Regions from separate parts of the Homo sapiens genome. Here region 2 is linked to region 1. Evidence: promoter capture Hi-C in human tissues and cell types (Jung and others, 2019). All regions are on one chromosome and are shown on one strand. The core of a region is centred on a gene start or on the middle of the fragment in contact, and the rest is flanking DNA. Distances in the headings are between cores, read along the strand shown. Region 1 holds the start of CHRM5 (cholinergic receptor muscarinic 5). Region 2 overlaps AVEN (apoptosis and caspase activation inhibitor).

Region 1 (3,586 bases), core at 758-3,257:
ACCTTGGGAGAGAAGTATTCTATTGCCCTCCATAAAAAATGGGAGCACGGTCCTCAGCAGTGGCTTTGAGCTTAGATGGAAACAGAAAATTATAATTTCCATCTACACCCCTTTAATGGCTCCCCATATTCACCACCCCCATTCTCTTTCATCCAGCCAATTTGAAAGATGAGATAAGAGTGAGAAGAGACAGAGAACCTGAATGAGAATGAATTTCGACAGGTGAGGGTGTGGCACACAAGTTATTTTCAGGACCTCATGCTATTGTATTCTTGGAAAAGTTAAGTGGACAGCCAAATGTTATGCTTTACCAGAAAGGAGCTAGGAGTTCAAACTTCATAGAAAAATTAAAATCCATTGGGAAGAAACCTTGACATTAATGAAAAACATATATAATATTATAGTCATCGATCCTCATAAACACAATGGCCCCATTTGATAGATTTTTACTTCTCTCATTTTGGATCTCCACTGAACTCTAAGTCACATTCAATCATTGAAATGGCTTAATAATCAGTGGCTTAAAACTTGGGGTATTTATTATAGAAGTGACCAGTATATAATGACCAATCATTACCATATGAAATTACAATCCTTTTCAGTATCATGCAATGTTAAGTGGGAAAAGTTCAAGAAAATATTCTAAAGATATGTTCTCTTGCATAAATATTCCTATTACAAATGTGTGTCAAAGACCACTATAAAACTAAAATTCACTTCTTTCTCATACATGTTCATCTGTCAGTGTTTAAAATTCTATTGGCTAACAATTAAAGTGTATACTTTGTCTGGATTCTCACTCAGAAAAAACCTACATAAAGACATAGTTTCTGAGACACAAGGAATTTAAAATGAACTGGATATTATATGACTCCAGAGGATTATAGCCAATGTGTTAGGTGTGATAATGGCACAGGGTCATGTGAAAAAGTGTCCATACTTTAAAAATATACATACTAAAGTACAAATAGGTGAAATGAGATTTGCTTTAAAATATTTTAGCAAAGAATTGAATCTGACAATTGTTGAATCTTGGTAATGAGTTTCTGGAGGTTCATGTATTATTTTTGTATTATTTTTCAGAGTTTTGTGTAAGTTTGAAATGTTCCATAATAATTTTTTAAAATTTAAAAACATTATATTGTCTAGATACACTCATAAAGAACTCAGGCAGGGAAAAAACGTTTAAATTTAAAATTTAAATTTTAAACTGAAGTGCAGTTTTAAAAATTTGAATTTTAAATTTAAAAACTGAAGTGCAAAAATTATGAAATTGACATTTAAAAATCTATTCTTTTATACAGCTAATATGGATTTCATCTAACTTAAGGAAAAGCTTTAATGAAGACCCTGTTAAAAGTTTGTATCAAATGAGGACTTATAATGCTTTACTCCAAAGCAACAAAACGCATATGCCCAAAAGATGTATAAAAACAGGCATACATTTAGGAAAAAAAAAAAAGGCAGCCTTTTCTCTGCTACAAATATTTAAAACTCACAGTATACTCTTTCTATCTCAAAGACTTTTAAAAATTATTTTCCATCTTTAGGGAAAACCATATGAGAAAATAACTCAGCAACATGTCTGTGAATAATGCCTAGCAAAGCTTAAAAAAAAAAAAAAAAAAAAAAAAAAGCTTCTAGCCAAAAAGACTAACAGGAAAAAATGAACATTTTCAAAAGCATTTTGGAACCTTATTCCAGCTACCTCCATGCTAAGCCCTCTTTTTCCTCCCAAAATACGTCACTTAACTGTCTGTCAAATAACTCTTGCCCATTCTACCTGATCACACTCTGAAGCTGCAGCTTTTCCTGGATTCTCTTCTCAATGACAAGCTGTTCAAACAGAGAACACCTATCAAAACGAATATCATCATCTGCTCCTTTCTTTCTTCCTTTCAGGATATACTGCTGTCCAGCAGGGGAAGTAATTAATGAGTTTTTTATGTATGGCAGCGTCATCCCATCAGTTTGCTGTCTGGTTTGAATAGCTCCTATCAGCTCTTCATTCATGCCAAGTACGCTCACCGTCCAGAGACATGATAAAGCCGTACTTCCTTCTGGATTTTTACCTCACTATTCAAAAAACAGGGTACCAGAAGCATGGGTTACAAAAGCATGAGGAGGACAGAAGAAATGCCTTCATCTTCTACAGAAAGGAAGCTGATGGACTGAAAAGTTCGTATGGAGAAAGGAAAGCAAGAGTGCAAGAACATCCATGCTTCTAGTCCAGATAATGTTTTTTAAAGCAGCTTGATTTGGAAGCGTGTGTAATTCTGAAATACGAACAAGCAGAACTTTTCCAGGGGGTCAAATGCATATAGGAACAACCAGGATTTCTCATTGCTGAAGCATTCAATGAATCTTTAATAAGTTCTCAACACTCAGATTGTTTGTGATCAGATCAACTGCTGTTACCAGATAAAGGCAAAACTCACCCTTCTGGTTCTATAATCCTATCCAAATGGAGTCTTCATCTACCGCATACTATCCTAACTAATGCTACAGGATTATCAGGAATACAGATATAAAGACACTGCAAGAAATAAAACACTGGCAAAATAAAACATGAAAGGAAAGTAGAGAAGGCATTTTGGGTCTCGAAGCTTACTATTTCCAGCCAGAGTTCAAATTACTGAGCTTCAAACAAACCACTGCCAGGTAAGATTTAATTTTATAACCTTAATTTATATCTTGTCTACTGAAATTAAATCTGCTCGTGCTGTGAATGAGATAGTGGATTTGAATTTCTTGCAACCCTTCCTTAAGCTTTTGCAGATTTAAGCTGAGGTAAACGCTTGTTTTTACTTATGCTGCATAAACAAGTCACTCAGAACTAGATAATAAAGCATCCAAAACTCCCATTCATTTTTCATTGAATTTGTCTCATCTTTGTCTTTATTTTTATCCCAATTTTGTTTTATTTAATAGCTTGAAAAAAATGCATGAAGAGAGCCCTGAATGGTGCATAAGAGCCATTCACAGATAATGTTTACCAACAATATTCAAATGAACTTAGTTTCCCAGAGTACTTGATAAAACAAAGAAAAATTAATAAGCATTTTAAATATTTTTATTCATATAAAGGAACAAAAGCTCAATGACTGATTTCTATTGTTACTAAGAAAAAAAAGCTGTGATGTCATTTCATTCATACTAAAGAAAAATAATCTCTACTAAATCGAGGTATAACACTCTTGTAGGATAGGGCTAATTTATCCTAAAGATACTAGACATTTTTATAACAGACTAAATGAAGACATTTTTCTGATTCAACAAGAGGATAAAAAGATGAAAGATGTCTGGTACCTTAAAACCTCAAAAGCTTTGACTCAGGTCAGTGGTCCAAACTGTAAAATGCAAAGCACTAGTGAAGCCATCAAAGGATTTTAAAAGATACAGTGCCTTTAAGAAATTCCCTAGAAATCACTGCATAATGAGACTTCTAGAGTGACAATCTTATGTAAAAACAACAAAACGTTATCATTTAGCAGAAATCCCAACCACATTGGTTTTCATGAGTTTCATTGGAAAACTTAGGTCCAAAGCACCTTATCATAAAGAAGTCCTACAACAAATAATATTT
Region 2 (3,586 bases), core at 677-3,176, 78 kb before region 1:
AGATGTCAATATTAATGTTTATAGTCAATGTAACTCCAATCAAATTATTGTTAATGTTTTATAGTCAATATATTTAATATTTATTTATATCCAGTGTGATTAATATTAATTTTAAATTGCCTATGGAAAATACTTTTGGAATTCTTTTTTTGTGTGTGTGTGTGTGAGATGGAGTCTCACTCTGTCACCAGACTGGAGTGCAGTGGCGCGATCTTGGCTCACTACAACCTCCGACTCCCTGGTTCAAGTGATTCTCCTGCCTTAGCCTCCCCAAGTAGCTAGGACTACAGGCGCATGCCACCACGCCCAGCTAAAGTTGGCCAGGATGGTCTCAATTTCTTGACCTCGTGATCCACCTGCCTCGGCCTCCCAAAGTGCTGGGATTACAGGCATGAGCCACCACACCCAGCCTGGAATTCTTTTTTGCTATTTTCATATAACTCAGGTGAGATGTACGTCTTACAGATATTTTAAAATTATTATTTTAATTTGTATATACTTGAAAATATCTTTCAGAAAATTATCATTTAATATTTTGAACATCTTCCAGATTTCTAAATACAAACATGAAAAATCTATTAACAAAATCATAAAAATGGGCATCTTTTTTGACTGCTGTACTACAAAGACTTTAAATGACATATAAATTCAAAAACTCTAAAACCACATTATTCAAATAATGCTAGTCTTTTAATCTCTGTCAGTATAACAAAACCTTTTCCCACCAATGCCAAGATCATTTCTGTAAGTATCCAGCAGATTTCTTGCTTTTATTGCTCTCCCCACTGTTGGCTTGTGAGTCTGTTCTGTTTGTTTTTGTGCACACTATGAGCTTAGCTGAAAACTCTAAAATAATATTAGACTAATTAGGACGTCCATAATGTCCCTTGAATACACCTGTCTGACACTACAATGTAAATCTTAAGTTATCTGTTTCTCTGCCTCTTCCCCCTCCTATTCAACCCAATGGACATGAAATATGTTTCTGCACAAAAAAAAATACGCATCCAACTTGCCTTCTCATCTCATTAGGTTTTCTTTTATTTTTAGTTTTGAAAAACAGTATTCTACAGAGCTGTGATTTAAATGGGCAAATGACATACAGAGTAATTTGAATTTTTAAATGTTTTGTTTAGCCTTCCTGTCAAAAATTAGAGCAAATATGTGCAATCTGATTTTTATTCTTTTTCAGGTCATGTCCTTTGAGACTAACGGAGCAGCTGTGGCTTCTTGTCACAGCATACATTTATAGAAAATCGGGCATACCATTAGAGGGGAGACTCGAAGCTTGGTCCTGAAAATGATGTGCAAACAAATGTGCTCTCCACCAATGGGGTCAAGGTACGGCAAGGTAGATACAAACCCTACATTCTACCGATTCCAAACTTCACAGAAAACCAAGTGGCCACAAGGTGTCAAGGCGAGTTCCCTCTCCGACGTGCCAAACTGATCTTCTCTGGAGATGTTTGTGCATCACTGATAGTGTCTAGGTTTTTGTTCATTGATGCAAAACATTTTTTGGTTTTCTGGTTTTTTTACTTCCTCAAGGGATAATACACATTATATGTTCAGTAGTCTGAGGTATATAGTGATCTTATCTTAGTTGGGGCTCGATGCTGCCTAGCTCCACACAAAGCCAACATGATTTCTGCAATGTACACATCTTCAGTAAAGCACTGTTAACTGTCAGAGCCCAGTTTTTATTACTACTCTTGTGACTGGTGCGGTGCCTGGCACACAGTAGGCAGTTAGTAAATGTGCATTTAGGAAGGAGGGAAATAATAATGCGTAAATATATGCATGCAAGAATAAATGAGCAAACGAACAAGAATACAAGGCTAAACAAAATCAACAAATGAACATCAGTAGTCTATGTGCCATAAAGGGGATAAGGAAACAGAGAAATAAGGGGGGAAATCATGTTACTTTCATGAAGCTTGCCAAAAGTATAGGGCAAAAATGTAAAATACAGAATTCTGTTTGCAACCAGAAATTTCTAGTAAATCAAATAACTCAAATAAGAACAAGTGGGAAGGAGAAAAAAATGGCAGAGATCTTCAATTAGAATTTTCTTAAACCACTCTCAAAAAGGGAGAAAGATGAAAAGAAACTAAGGATGGATCTCAAAATGTAATATTCCAGCAATTACCACTATCCAAGACAAGTGAACAGTGCAAACTTACTAGCTGATGAGCTATGAACATGACCATTACAAAGGTAAAACTGGCCAAGCATGGTGGCTCACAGCTGTAATCCCAGCACTTTGGGAGGCTGAAGAGGATCATGAGAGCCCTGAAATTTGAGGCCAGCCTGGGCAACATAGTGAGAACTCATCACTACCAAAAATTTAAAGAATTAGCGGAGCGTGGTGGTGCACATGTGTAGTCCCAGCTACTTGAGAGGCTGAGATGAGAGGATTGCTTGAGGCCAGGGGGCGAAGGTTGCAGTGAGCCGAGATCACACCACTGCACTCCAGCAACAGAGTGAGACTCTGTCTGGAAAAAAAAAAAATCCTAAAAGATATACTAAAATGTCTGGCTTTTAAACATTCCCCTTGTTGGTAATAAGCAAGCTTTAGAAATTTATCCCCACAGAAATTTTGTTTTATATTGTATTAACTATTTTTTAATGGTTTGTTTTTATTATACTTTAAGTTCTAGGGCACATGTGCACAACGTGCAGGTTTGATATATAGGTATACATGTGCCATGTTGGTTTGTTGCACCCATTAACTCGTCATTTACATTAGGTATTTCTCCTAATGCTATCCCTCCCCCAGTCCCCCACCCCCTGACGGGCCCTGGTGTATGATGTTCCCCTCCCTGTCTGTGTCCAAGTGTTCTCATTGTTCAGTTCCCACCTGTGAATAAGAACATGTGGTGTTTGGTTTTCTGTGATAGTCTGCTGAGAATGATGGTTTCCAGCTTCATTCATGTCCCTGCAAAGAACATGAACTCATCCTTTTTATGGCTGCATAGTATTCCATGGTGTATATGTGCCACATTTTCTCAATCCAGTCTATCAATGATGGACATTTGGGTTGGTTCCAAGTCTTTGCTATTGTGAACAGTGCCACAATAAAAATAGGTGTGCATGTGTCTTTATAGTAGAATGATTTATAATCCTTTGGGTATATACCCAGTAGTGGGATGGCTGGGTCAAATGGTATTTCTAGTTCTAGATCCTTGAGGAATCACCACACTGTCTTCCACAATGGTGGAACCAATTTACACTCCCACCAACAAAGTAAAAGCATTCCTATTTCTCCACATCTTCTCCAGCATCTGTTGTTTCCTGACTTCTTAATGATCGCCATTCTAACTGTCATGAGATGGTATCTCATTGTGGTTTTGATTTGCATTTCTCTGATGACCAGTGATGATGAGCATTTTTTCGTGTGTCTGTTGGCTGCATAAATGTCTTCTTTCGAGAAGTGTCTGTTCATATCCTTTGCCCACTTTTTGATGGGGTTGTTTTTTTCTTGTAAATTTGTTTGAGTTATTTGTAGATTCTGGATATTAGCCCTTTGTCAGATGGGTAGATTGCAAAAATTTTCTCCGATTCTGTAGGTTGCCTGTTCACTCTG

Evidence for each region. Contacts are between HindIII fragments. The study calls those that stand out against the background at their distance.
Region 2: a contact is called between a fragment that was not itself captured here and the fragment with the promoter of CHRM5 in region 1, in 2 of the 25 tissues and cell types used here (H1 embryonic stem cells and mesenchymal stem cells).

What each region holds. Positions count from the first base shown.
Region 1 is chr15:33,966,490-33,970,075 of GRCh38, forward strand. It overlaps CHRM5 (cholinergic receptor muscarinic 5), which reads left to right and starts at 2,008. Exons shown (of 3, transcript NM_012125.4): 1 at 2,008-2,661. All of the region lies in intron 2 of AVEN (apoptosis and caspase activation inhibitor), which reads right to left. The HindIII fragment of the contact is 2,452 bases long and covers 596-3,047 here.
Region 2 is chr15:33,888,605-33,892,190 of GRCh38, forward strand. All of the region lies in intron 2 of AVEN (apoptosis and caspase activation inhibitor), which reads right to left. Among named protein-coding and RNA genes, the nearest start is that of CHRM5, 78 kb to the right of the region's middle. The HindIII fragment of the contact is 5,335 bases long and covers 1-3,586 here.